Regions from separate parts of the Homo sapiens genome. Here regions 2 and 3 are each linked to region 1. Evidence: promoter capture Hi-C in 16 types of primary human blood cells and fetal thymus (Javierre and others, 2016). All regions are on one chromosome and are shown on one strand. The core of a region is centred on a gene start or on the middle of the fragment in contact, and the rest is flanking DNA. Distances in the headings are between cores, read along the strand shown. Region 1 holds the start of DNAJC2 (DnaJ heat shock protein family (Hsp40) member C2). Region 2 overlaps ARMC10 (armadillo repeat containing 10). Region 3 overlaps NAPEPLD (N-acyl phosphatidylethanolamine phospholipase D).

Region 1 (4,121 bases), core at 790-3,289:
AAAAGGAATGAAATTCTAGTATAAGCTACAACACAGATGAACCTTGAAGACATTATGCTAAGTGAATAAGTCAGTCACAAAAAAGACAAATACTATATGATTCCACAAATATGAAGTACCTAGAGGTGTCAAATTCCTAAAGACAAAGTAGAAGGATGGTTTCCAGTGGACAGTTTTTTCCACTGGCATAGTTTCAGTTTTGTAAGAGATTAAATGGGTATAGAGTTTCAGTTTTGTAAGATAAAAATAGTTTTGTAGGGTGGTTACACAATAATGTGAATGTACTTAACATTACTGTAAACTTAAAAACGGTGAAGATCGTAAATTTCATGTTATGTGTGTTTTAGCACAATTTTTTTAAAAAACAAAACCCCCGACCGGGCACCGTGGCTCACCCCTGTAATTCCAGCACTTTGGGAGGCTGAAGCAGGCAGATCATGAGGTCAGGAGTTGGAGACCAGCCTGGCCAACATGGCTAAACCCCGTCTCTACTACAAATACAGAAATTAGCTGGGCGTGGTGGCACGCACCTGTAATCCCAGCTACTCGGGAGGCTGAGGCAGGAGAATCGCTTGAACCTGGGAGGCAGAGATTGCAGTGAGCCGAAATCAGGCCACTGCACTCCAGCCTGGGCGACAGAGCAAGCCTCTGTCTCAGAAAAGAAAACAACAAAAAAACAAAAACCCATGTTAGAGTTAATGGTAAAATTGAATGGGAGGAGGTGTGAGGAAAAAAATATATTAATATGAAGAAAGTGGAGTCAGGTTACTTTGCACCTTGGAGCATGTTTTAACAGTGGTTGCATTAGTAGGGATCAGGAAGAGGTTTTGGGGCAGAAGATTAGTTCAATTTTTTTTTTTTTAAAGACGGGGTCTCACTGTTACCCAGGCTGGAGCGCAATGGTGTGATCTCAGCTCACTGCAACCTCCACCTCCCGGCCTCAACGATCTTCCCACCTCAGCCTCCCTTAGTTCAATTTTTGAAAAGTCAGTTTTGAAGTGACAATTTTATCATGCAGCAGATATACAGACCAATTAAATGTATTTAATTGGCCTGGCACAGTGACTCACGCCTCTAATCCCAGAGTTTTGGGAGACTGAGGCAGGAGGATCCCTTGAGGCCAGGAGTTCAAGACCACCTTGGGCAACATAGTGAGACCCTGTCTCTACAAAAAAAAATATACATATATATATATATAATATATTTAAAAACTTTAATTGTGAAAATATAATGAAATTAGTAAGTTATTTTCTAATTTACTAATTTCTGGTGGTCCTTGCTAAAGAGTGGCATATCAAGTTTATTTTATTGAACCTGTTTCAGATACTGCTGTTGGGGGTGAGCCTTTACCCACTGTTTGTTTTTGCTAGTTTTTGCTTTTGACTGCAGTCTTAGAAGGAAGCATATAGTAGGAATACAATTGATTTTATTATACATTAAAAAATTAAGTCCCAGAGTCCTATAATTGGGAATATCTTGAATAAAAACTTCATTAGAACAAGGTAAAAATATTGCTGGCCTTGGAATACAATCTAACACACTAGAGAGAGGTTTCTTCTCCAAGCGAGTATTAAAAGATATAATGCAGGTAAATTAGTAATAGCACGACAAATATTAGCTGCTATTATCATCATCAAGTTAAACACAAATGTATCACAAATACACGTACGTAATTCTCCGCAAATGTATATACTAGTCGTCGATACTGGTTCATACAGGTATTTTCATTTTTTACTTAAAAGTATAGCGCTCCTGGGAAAATCACTGATTAGGTTCAGATTAATACATAAAGCAGTAAGAACTTAAAGATAATATAAAAAGAACTGCTTTTAAAGGTTATGTTCTATGTATTGCACTGGGACGTGGAATATAATCCTTTTTACAGGAAAACTGATGCGCCTAGGAACCATTCTCTCGTGCGACTTGGTCTCCAGCCGGATCTCAGTCAGTATAGAACTAGGTTACCGCACACGTTGGCGGGGGTGGGAGGGTGTGAGACTGGCCTCCACACCACGAAAGATCCATCCCGGAAGTGCTTACTGGTCGTCTCCATGCGCCGGTTCCTGGGCGTCTTAGAGCCAAGGCGCGAGGCTCGGAGTGAGAGGTAGAGCTGGAGGGGACCCTAAGCGCCCTCCGCCCGGGACGTGAGCCGCTGCGCCCACCGGGCTAGACCCGGCGCCATCATGCTGCTTCTGCCAAGCGCCGCGGACGGCCGGGGCACCGCCATCACCCACGCTCTGACCTCTGGTAAGTGCCCACCCAACCTCGGTTCCTTCTCACCTCAGCTGCCCCTGCCTCAGTCCTCCGCCTCGGCAACCCTGGGCTCTCTCTACCCTTGACCCTGGCGACTAGCCCCGGGGCCGTATGGGGCCGTGACGAGTGCCTTTTTGCTCCGTGTTTTAAAGTAATCCTACCCTAGATTAGAAGGAAGGAGGGTGAGGGGTGCCTTCCTTTTGCTCCTACCGTTGCTTCCTCCTCTCGCCGCTGCTGACTCATGGATTGGGCTGAGCATTTCGGGACGGAACCCCCCAGCACCCCAGAAAGGTTCTCATAAGCATCTCCTTGCCTACGGTGGAAAGACTACGCGCAGCGAGCACCCCACGTGCCTGGGGTCGTACAAAGCTTTGCTACTGGCGCTCTCTTAAACAACTTTCTCCCTCTCTACGTTTGCTCCGGCCTTGTTTTTTAAATGTCACAACTCAGACACCGCTCCTCATACTCGGTGTTCAAAGACTGTGCTGCTGAAAAGATCCGCGTAGACTTTGAAAGGCAGTTATTACAAGTGAAACTTGTCCTGCTGCTGTAGGTTTTAGTTTTATGGCCCAGGACAGTCATGAGTATTGTAAACTTAAGAGTCTTCAGGTCCAGTGATCTACAGTAATTCCCATAGCCAGTCACATAGGCGCTTGTTGAATGTGATTTTGAACATAACCCATGGCACGTGTTGCATTTATGTGTCTCCGTGTGCCTCTTACAACTAGAGCAAAAGGCTTAAAAGGCAGTGTTCTTAAAAGCCACACACCCATACTACACAGGTAGTACCTTTTTGACAGTGTTTTAATCCTCTCCTGTGTAAGGTGGAGGAAATCTTAAAATAAGTTGTTCAGGGATTTTCCTTTTTTGAATTGCTAGTATACACATGTACAGTGATTTACCCCCACTTCCCAGGAATAGATGATACCTTTACTACAAGTTTGTAATTTCAGAGAGTTTCTGTGGTCTCATTCAAGCTTCCTAGGAACTGAATGAGATAAATAGGTATTGTTCCCATTTTACAGGTGAAGACATCCTGATTCATTTCAGGTCACATAGCCACTGTCAGACCTAGTCTAAAACCCAGAGTGTCTGGTTTCAGATTGAGAGCTTGTTCCACTACAGCTTAGCTGCATTAGTAAATTCCCATTTGCTGCTTGGAAAATTGCTTTCAGGACAAATTCTTGTTAGTGAATTCTTAAAATTTTTAAGAGCTATATTCAAGATTTTAATAATTAAGACAGTTTGAGTTGTCTGGGTGCGGTGGCTCACGTCTATAATCCCAGCACTTTGGGAGGCCGAGGCAGGTGGATCACCTGAGGTCAGCAGTTCGAGACCAGCCTGGCTAACAGGGTGAAACCCTGTCTCTACTAAAAATACAAAAAAGTAGCTGGGCGTGGTGGCGGGCGCCTATAATCCCAGCAACTTGGGAGGCTGAGGCAGAAGAATCGTTTGAACCCGGGAGGCGGAGGTTGCAGTGAGCCGAGATTGCGCTATTGCACTACAGCCTGGACAACAAGAGCAAAACTCCGTCTCAAAAAATAAAAAGATAGTTTGAGTTGTTTTTAGATTTTTTATTTTTGGTGAGGCTAGCTCTTCGTGACAATTTATCACTATTTATTACTTTATTAAAATTATTTGTCTAGGCCGGGCGCGGTGGCTCACGCCTGTAATCCCAGCATTTTGGCAGGCCGAGGTGGGTGGATCACGAGGTCAGGAGATCAAGACCATCCTGGCTAATATGGTGAAACCCCGTCTTTACTAAAAATGCAAAAAATTAGCCGGGGGTGGTGGCGGGTGCCTGTAGTCCCAGCTACTCGGGAGGCTGAGGCAGGAGAATCGCTTGAACCCGGGAGGCGGAGCTTTCA
Region 2 (4,121 bases), core at 450-2,949, 250 kb after region 1:
GCCCCTTTTGGTAAGCTACCATGAATTTTTGAGGTTATCTTTTAATGTGAAAGTGTTTTACAATCATATAAATAAGCACAGTGATAAAAACTGATAGATCGGTTGATTGATTGAGATGGGGGTCTCACTATATTGCTGAAGCTGGTCTTGAACTCCTGGCCTCAAGCAATCCTCTCACTTTGGCCTCCCAAAGTAACTAGGATTACAGGCAATGAGCCACCATGCCCAGCAATGATATAAATAATAAGCAAATAAATGTTATCTAATGGGTGACTAGCTAAAATATCAGCATTCTTATCACTTATAACTGAAAAGTCAGTAATAACAAGACTCAAATAGAATGCCTCTTTTTAATTTATTAATTATTATTCTTAAGTTTTAGGGTACATGTGCACAATGTGCAGGTTAGTTACATATGTATACTTGTGCCATGCTGGTGCACTGCACCCACTAACTCGTCATCTAGCATTAGGTATATCTCCCAATGCTATCCCTCCCCCCTCCCCCCACCCCACAACAGTCCCCAGAGTGTGATGTTCCCCTTCCTGTGTCCATGTGTTCTCATTGTTCAATTCCCACCTATGAGTGAGAATATACAGTGTTTGGTTTTTTGTTCTTGCGATAGTTTACTGAGAATGATGATTTCCAATTTTGTCCATGTCCCTACAAAGGACATGAACTCATCATTTTTTATGGCTGCATAGTATTCCATGGTGTATATGTGCCACATTTTCTTAATCCAGTCTATCATTGTTGGACATTCGGGTTGGTTCCAAGTCTTTTAAAAACAAAGGCCATGTGAAACCATACTTTCTACAAGATACCTGGAACTAAAATAAGCATAGAGGGGGGTACTAACTCAGGGAAATGGGACAAATGTGCTCTTCACTAGAGCTGGGAAGGAACCTGGATATTATTTTAGAAAAATTTTTTATTACAAAGGCAACAGATGTTTACCATAGCACTTTCAAAAAAATAGAAAACCACAAAGAAAAAGAAAATTTACCCGTATTTACATAACCAGAAATGATCACGATTAAGTGTTGGTATTTTTGGCCAGGTGCGGTGGCGCATGCCTGCATTCCCAGCACTTTGGGAGGCCAAGGTGGGCAGATCACTTGAGCTCAGGAGTTCAAGAGCAACATGGGCAACATGGCAAAACCCCGTCTCTACCAAAAATACAAAAATCAGCCAGGCGTGGTGGCATGTGACCAAAGTCCCAGGGAGGCTGAGGTAGGAGGATTGTTTGAGCCTGGAAGCTCAAGGCTGCAGTGAGCAGAGATCATGCCACTGCAATCTAGCCTGGGCAACAGAGTGAGATTCTGTGTCAAAAAAGAGAAAGAAAAGTTTTAGTATTTTCTTTTTGGTCTTTTATGCAAATATCCTGTATAGTCACAATTTCTTTGATCATGTTGTAGATACTAATTTATTTGAGGATGACATAATACTTTGCTTAATTTTACTGTTTTTATCAAATATTTCTTTATTTTTAGAAAATTACTACTTGGTCATGATAAAAATTTTAAGTAATGCAAAAGAGAACAAGGTAAAAACAAAAGCCACCATGCTTTTGGCCCCTTCCAATCCTCAGCAGTGTCCACTGGTAACATTTCTTGAATATGCAGAGATTGTCTTTTTCAAAGAGATGCTATTAATAAATTAAGGCCTCTGGGGTTGAAAGAGTAAAGGAGACTTCTGACCCTTCTTTAGTGCACTCCGTGGAGGTCACTATCAGATCTCATCTGGCCTGACTGACTATCAGCAACACTAGGAATAAGTGTTAGGAAAAAAACACCTGGCTCCAATGTCAATGAAGTTTCAATTAGAAAAATAGGAACAGGAGGTATGAAATAGGATGGTCCTGAACTTACGAAATAAGCCTGGATGAAGTCAAAATCTAAGACCCACTAATAGTCAATGAGGGCAGGTATACAACCAGGGAATAGCAACAGCAATAGCTATTTGGTATCCTGTATTAAAATCTGATGTTGCTATTCTTTGTAGAAGGGAGTTAAATATGAGAAAAAAATATATATACAGTTAGAGTACAACTACAGATTAAACAAATATATGGATTTTGGTTTGAAACCATATTAAGACATGTTTTTTTTCCTCGTCACATGCACCATCTTGTGGTGACACTAGGACATTTTAAACCATTAGTTTTGTTTTCATTGAGGATGTAACAAGCACACAGTTTATGTTAATCCTCCACTATCTGCATTAAGTTATCAATCAGTGGTGTACCCAAACGGTTATTACAGTACAGTGAGATCCCTGACTTAAGCAAAATACGATATTTAAACATTCATTTTAGTGGTTATTTACTAAGAAAATACCTAAATCAGACACACTTTCCCACTAACAAATGGATGGCTATCCAAAAGTTCATTTGCAAGTTGGAACTTTAAACTCAATTTTTATGGAAAATCAATGTTGTAATTGGTAGGTATGTTCCAAGGCAGACCAAGAAAGCAAATTTTCTATCCTAGAAATACTGTACTAAGCAATGTAATGGAAAAACACAACACAACAAAACAAAAATAGAACATACTATTGTGGTCTGGGTCATCTTTTAAAAAGTCAAAAAATATATGAAAACACAGACGATGTCTGAGACAGATATATACAGCCCCAAGGCCAGACTTGCCTGGCTGAACTCAGCCTGGCTCTGGACTCAGAGTTCCTCCTGAGGTTCTGGGTAAAGCAGCTGCAGAGTCAGGCAGAGGAGAGATTTCTCCTACAGTGGCAACAACATACAGTAAAGAGGGAAGGAGTTTCCCCAGGGGTTCAGGGGCTGGAAGTTATCTTGTTCCACTGGAGACAGACATGCTGATGCACGTTGGAAACTGCCTGGGAATGGTGCAATATTGCTAGAAGACTACTCTTACATTTAATTTTCAATACCTTTTGGTACATCTTGGATCACATCCAAACAAGTTTGGCTATTGGAAAAGAGGAAAGTCCATGTACAAACACCTTGGAAACATAAAAGCAGGACTACAGTAAGACTCTCCTGTAATCACATCTTGATAAACTCAAAAATAACTGCAGTGATGTTGAATATTTGGAGTATGGCTTCACATTTGGTCTTTCTAAAATGCTTATGCATTTGTCTCTCAACTGTTCCAGAGAACACAGACTAACATGGTAAAAAGCCTTGATGAACAATCAACCCGACTTATCAGAACTTTTAATTAGCCTACAATCTATTTTTATGCTACTTTTTCTTGAAAAATGGCAATTGATAAGAATGCACACTAATATGAGAGATTTACTTAAGAAACTTTTTATAGGGCATCTCCTAAGGTCCTACTTAATTCAGCTCAATATCTGTTGCCTCTTATATCAACCTAACTGGACAGAGTGAAGCACTGAGACATCTTTCATATATTCAATTCACTTCATTTACTACAGCTTAAAAGTTGTTTTAGAAATATTTTTCAACAAATAACTGAATCAAAAAAATGATTTGTTAACCCTGAGGTAAGCAAAATATTCAACTAACCACTACTATTACTCAGACTCCTTTTAATCACAATGTTCCTATATTTGGTGGGGGGAAGCTAGCTTCTCAGAAAACCAAATGAACAGGAATCTGTTGATAAGTGAAACAACAGATGGTTTTCAAAAGTTAATTTTGCAATGGAATATTTGGGACTAAAAATAATATACTTTCTTGGGCCCATGTGAGTTTTTAATAAATCTTCCTCTTTGAGGCACATCAACTTAAGATAGGTGGCCTGCAAATACTATTTCAATGTTAATAAGCTTGACACAATAGCTCTTCATACCTTCGTGTTTCCATTTCCAGTAAGTAACACCTGGAACAGGTCTGTAATGTAACTGTGAAGCATGTGCTGGTGGTCATTGGTAACAGTCATGTTTGTCAACAATGTCAGTCCAGCCAGCTGCACAGCAGAGTTCAGAGGACCAGAGAAGACATCCTCACATACTTGACTGATGTATATCTGAAGGCAGGGGAGGAAAATGAGCATCTTAGAATCTCCAAAATTTTTCTACTGAACAGCCACTTTTCTGCACAGTGGAGTAGGGCTACTGCTCAGGATGGAACCGACTCCTCAAAAAATACGACTTTTTTTTTTTTTTTTTTTTTGAGA
Region 3 (4,121 bases), core at 921-3,420, 230 kb after region 1:
CCTTAATCATTTACCCATTAGTCTGATCTTCTTGCCAAACCAAACACCTCATTGTTCAGTTTTATGATTAAATAAAATTTCTTGAATAGTAATTGGATATTTGGCTCCTGGTCTTTAAATTTTATGTACTAGTTTTTGTTTATTTTTGCTTTAGCAGGTTTTTACAAATTTGTATCAGCAGGACATACAAATTCTTTTGTAATTGGAGCTTTGGTTTTTATTTCTTTACCAATTATTCAGTTTCTTTGATACATATCCAGGACTGTAAAATATCTACTTTTAAAAGTAACAGTGAGGCAGGACTTATTTCCCAGTCTCAATTGATAAAGTGAAAAAACTGGCAGCTGGGCGCGGTGGCTCACGTCTGTGATCCCAGCACTTTGGGATGTGGAGGCAGGCAGATCACAAGGTCAGGAGATCAGTACCATCCTGGCTAACATGGTGAAACCCTGGTTCTACTAAAAATACAAAAAATTAGCCGGGAGAGGTGGTACGTGCCTATAGTCCCAGCTACCCAGGAGGTTGAAGCAGAAGAATCACTTGAACCCAGGAGGCGGAGGTTGCAGTGAGCTGGGATCGCGGCACTGCACTCTAGCCTGGGCGACAGAGTGAGACTCAATCTCAGAAAAAAAAAAAAAGAAAAAAAGAAAAAACTGGCAAAAACCAGCAGATGGTGACAGAAGTGATCCCTAGCTGCCCTCATTGCTCATTAGCCTAAGACTCTCCCACCATCACCATGACAGTTTATAAATGGCCATGGCAACAACCTAGAAGTTACTGCCCCTTTCCATGGCAATGACCAAGAAGTTACCACCCCATTCCTAGAAAGTTCTAAATAATCTGCCCTTTAATTTGCATTAACCCATTCCCTAATTTACATATAATTAAAAGTGGGTATAAGTGAGTGTAAATACAGTTACCAACCCCTCATATGTTGCCAACTCTGAGTGCACTTACTGCCTATAACTTAGCACTGCTCCTCAAGGAGCAGTATCGTTTAAAAAAAATTGCTGGCCAGCACCACTGGCTTGCCGTTGAATTATATTTCGTTTGTGAGGCCAAAAACCCTCCTGGGCTAAGCCTCAATTTTGGGGCTCGCCTCCCCTGCATCATCAGTAAGTTGTATCTTCAGATAGATCCAGTAAAATCAAAATATACGTGAAACAAAAATCTCACTATTCAGAGGGGAGTTTGCTTGAGACTTACTTATTTTATAGCAATTTGTACAAGAAAGACTTTTGCTTGTTTTATTTTTCAGCAGAAAGTGTACCAAAGGGAGATGGTTTTGCCTCCTGTGACTTAATTCCTGTGCAGAATTTGTTTTGTTTTTACAATCTAGCCTTGACCTGGCCTTCAGACTTGGTTTCTAGCTCATCCTCCCCAAAACTGCATGTTTTATCCCAGTGGTTCTTAATTCTCAACATCCATAGTCCTGCGCAGAATCTTAAAGTTTGGTTAAGTGAAACAGATTTTAGAATTTAGTGTATATCTCAAAGGTCAGAATTAAGAAATTGCCATGTTTCTTCAGGTGGTTTATGAAATACCAGCATGTAGACCCAGAAGAAGCTGTAAGGATTCACACTGATGTCCAAACAAAGAAATCTATGGCAATTCACTGGGGAACTTTTGCCTTAGCAAATGAGGTAAGTTTGATTGCGATAAAAATAACTTTGTGTGTTTGACCAATGATAGGATTCAGGCATCACTGTTCCTTAGTTTTCAGACCCAAGACTCTGGAATCAGATACTGCACAGTCATCACAGTCACTGCATGAATTAGGGTGGTAAATCATACTAATTAGTAGAACAATACACACATATACAGTCAGAAAAAAAAAACAACACAACCTCATTGTGTTTTCTTTTGGCTTATTTCTGAAGTTAGTAAAGCTTGTATTTGTATAACCAAAAATCTGTATGTGGTCTGGAGACTAGAAAAGCAAGCCATCATGTCTCACCCCTCAAGCAGGCTCTCATGCTAGCAGAAGACAGAAGTCATGTATGTGATACAGATGTTAGAAGGGGAAAGTGCTGTAATGTGGAACAGATGAGATGGTCTCAGAATCAGGATGTTTGCTGATGGCAGGGATCAGAGAGGGCGTGATGGAATAAGTGACATTTGAACTTGGCTCTGAGAGGGCAGGGAGGAAGGCATTTTCAGAGGAGGAAAGGGCAGAGCATAGGCTCGGAGGCAGCTAGTGTGGGGAGTACTTGAATCAGTTCAGCAGGAGAGTGGAGGGCAATAGGGAGAAGTAAGGCTAGTGTGGAACTTTCTAGAAATATATTCAGTAAACATTGACTCGGTGTCTGCTATGTGCCAGGCATAGGGATAAATGTGATTTTATTCCTAGATTAAAACAGAAGAGATAATTTTTCCTTAAGGCAGATGGACCCTAGAACTCTGCCACTAGCCTGGGTCCTGGGATCAAGCAGAGGATAGTATAAAGCTTTCTCTCCTTTCCTGGATCCAAGGTCTTCTCTAAACAAAACTTAGAAATGTATGGTTAGGCCCAGTGCAGTGGCTCACACCTGTAATCCCAGCACTTTGGGAGGCTGAGGCAGGTGGATCACTTGAGGTCAGGAGTTCGAGACCAGCCTGGCCAACATGGCGAAACCCCGTCTCTACTAAAAATACAAAATAGCCAGGCGTGGTGGTGCGTGCCTGTAATCCCAGCTACTCGGGAGGCTGAGGCAGGAGAATCGCCTGAACCCAGGAAGTAGAGGTTGCAGTAAGTCGAGATTGTGCCACTATACTCCAGCCTGGGCAAAAGAGTGAGATTTGGCTGGGCACCTGTGGCTCACACCTGTAATCCCAGCACTTTGGGAGTCTGAGGCGGGTGGATCACCTGAGGTCAGGAGTTCGAGACCAGCCTGGCCAACATGATGAAAACCCATCTCTAATAAAATTAGCTGGGCGTGGTGGCAGGCGCCTATAATTCCAGCTACTCGGGAGCCTGAGGCAGGAGAATAACTTGAACCTGGGAGACAGAGGTTGCAGTGAGCCGAGATTACGGCACTTCCTTCCAGCCTGGGTGAAAGAGCGAAACTCTGTCTTGAGAAAAAAAAAAAAAAAAAAAGTGAGACTCTGTCTTAAAAAAAAAAGTGAGACTCTGTCTTTAAAAAAAAAAAAAGTGTGGTTAGGACTTGGCTTCTTTACTTTCTGTGGCATCTTCCACATCCCAGAGCCTCTCTGCAGGAACTCAGTGTTTTCTTGCAGTTTTAGTTACTCCTCTGTCTCACTTATGGCCTGCCCTCTCCCAAAGATGCAGTGTGTTCCAAAATTACCTAATACACTGCCTGCCCATTCCCCCACTCCCTAATCAAAATTCCTGTGCCATGAGGCAGCAACCCTGAGCCACAATGCAGCAATTCTTGGCCACTGTTGGGAGAAGGAATAGAATAATGACTAACCATAGGGTTGTGGGGAGGATAAATGAGAATATAAATGTGGGTGTGTGGGTGCGTATTTGGAGAAGGGAGAAGTTTAAGACTGGTTTTCAGTGACAATTTCTTATTCCATCTATATATGTGTGCGTGTATGCACATATTCCATTATGTATATTCCATATATATGGGACTTAGATGAAGTAATGGTATTTTATTAAACCTATGCAAAGAAAGGAATCAAGGTTGACTCCTAGATTTTTAGCTTCAATAGCTGGTTAGACAGTTGTGCTCTTTACTGAGATGGGGAAGATGAGAGAGGATTAAAAAATCCTGTCTTTGAGAATTATTGTGTTATTCAGCCTTCAAGAATTATTCCTGTTATAAACCTAACCGCCATCTTTATTTCTTAATGAGAATGTTAATAAAAACTCATTTGACTTTCAGCATTTTGGAATTTGTTCATGTTTTGATGTTGAATAAACCTCATAACTATGAGTTAGTTGAATTATAAAGCAGATATAATCTTCAGAGAGGATATGTTACCCTTTACTTCTTTTTTTTTTTATTATACTTTAAGTTCTGGGATACATGTGCAGAACATACAGGTTTGTTACATAGGTATACACGTGCCATGGTGGTTTGCTGCACCCATCAACCCTTCATCTACATTAGGTATTTCTCCTAATGCTATCCCTCCCGTAGCCCCCCACCCCCTGACAGGCCCCAATGTGTGAT

The links. The method cuts DNA at HindIII sites, captures the fragments that hold promoters and counts their contacts. A CHiCAGO score of 5 or more calls a contact.
Region 2: a contact is called between a fragment that was not itself captured here and the fragment with the promoter of DNAJC2 in region 1, in 2 of 17 cell types (erythroblasts and megakaryocytes). The highest score is 8.9, in erythroblasts.
Region 3: a contact is called between a fragment that was not itself captured here and the fragment with the promoter of DNAJC2 in region 1, in 1 of 17 cell types (erythroblasts). The highest score is 5.9, in erythroblasts.

What each region holds. Positions count from the first base shown.
Region 1 is chr7:103,342,685-103,346,805 of GRCh38, reverse strand. DNAJC2 (DnaJ heat shock protein family (Hsp40) member C2) reads left to right here and starts at 2,039. Exons shown (of 17, transcript NM_014377.3): 1 at 2,039-2,247. The coding sequence starts at 2,184. It also overlaps a transcript of PMPCB not described here. RefSeq lists an enhancer at 1,857-2,096. The HindIII fragment of the contact is 5,590 bases long and covers 1-2,624 here.
Region 2 is chr7:103,092,327-103,096,447 of GRCh38, reverse strand. ARMC10 (armadillo repeat containing 10) reads right to left here. Exons shown (of 7, transcript NM_031905.5): 5 at 3,795-3,971. Among named protein-coding and RNA genes, the nearest start is that of ARMC10, 19 kb to the right of the region's middle. The HindIII fragment of the contact is 4,149 bases long and covers 1-3,773 here.
Region 3 is chr7:103,112,582-103,116,702 of GRCh38, reverse strand. It overlaps NAPEPLD (N-acyl phosphatidylethanolamine phospholipase D), which reads left to right. Exons shown (of 5, transcript NM_001122838.3): 4 at 1,529-1,643. Among named protein-coding and RNA genes, the nearest start is that of NAPEPLD, 34 kb to the left of the region's middle. The HindIII fragment of the contact is 557 bases long and covers 1,892-2,448 here.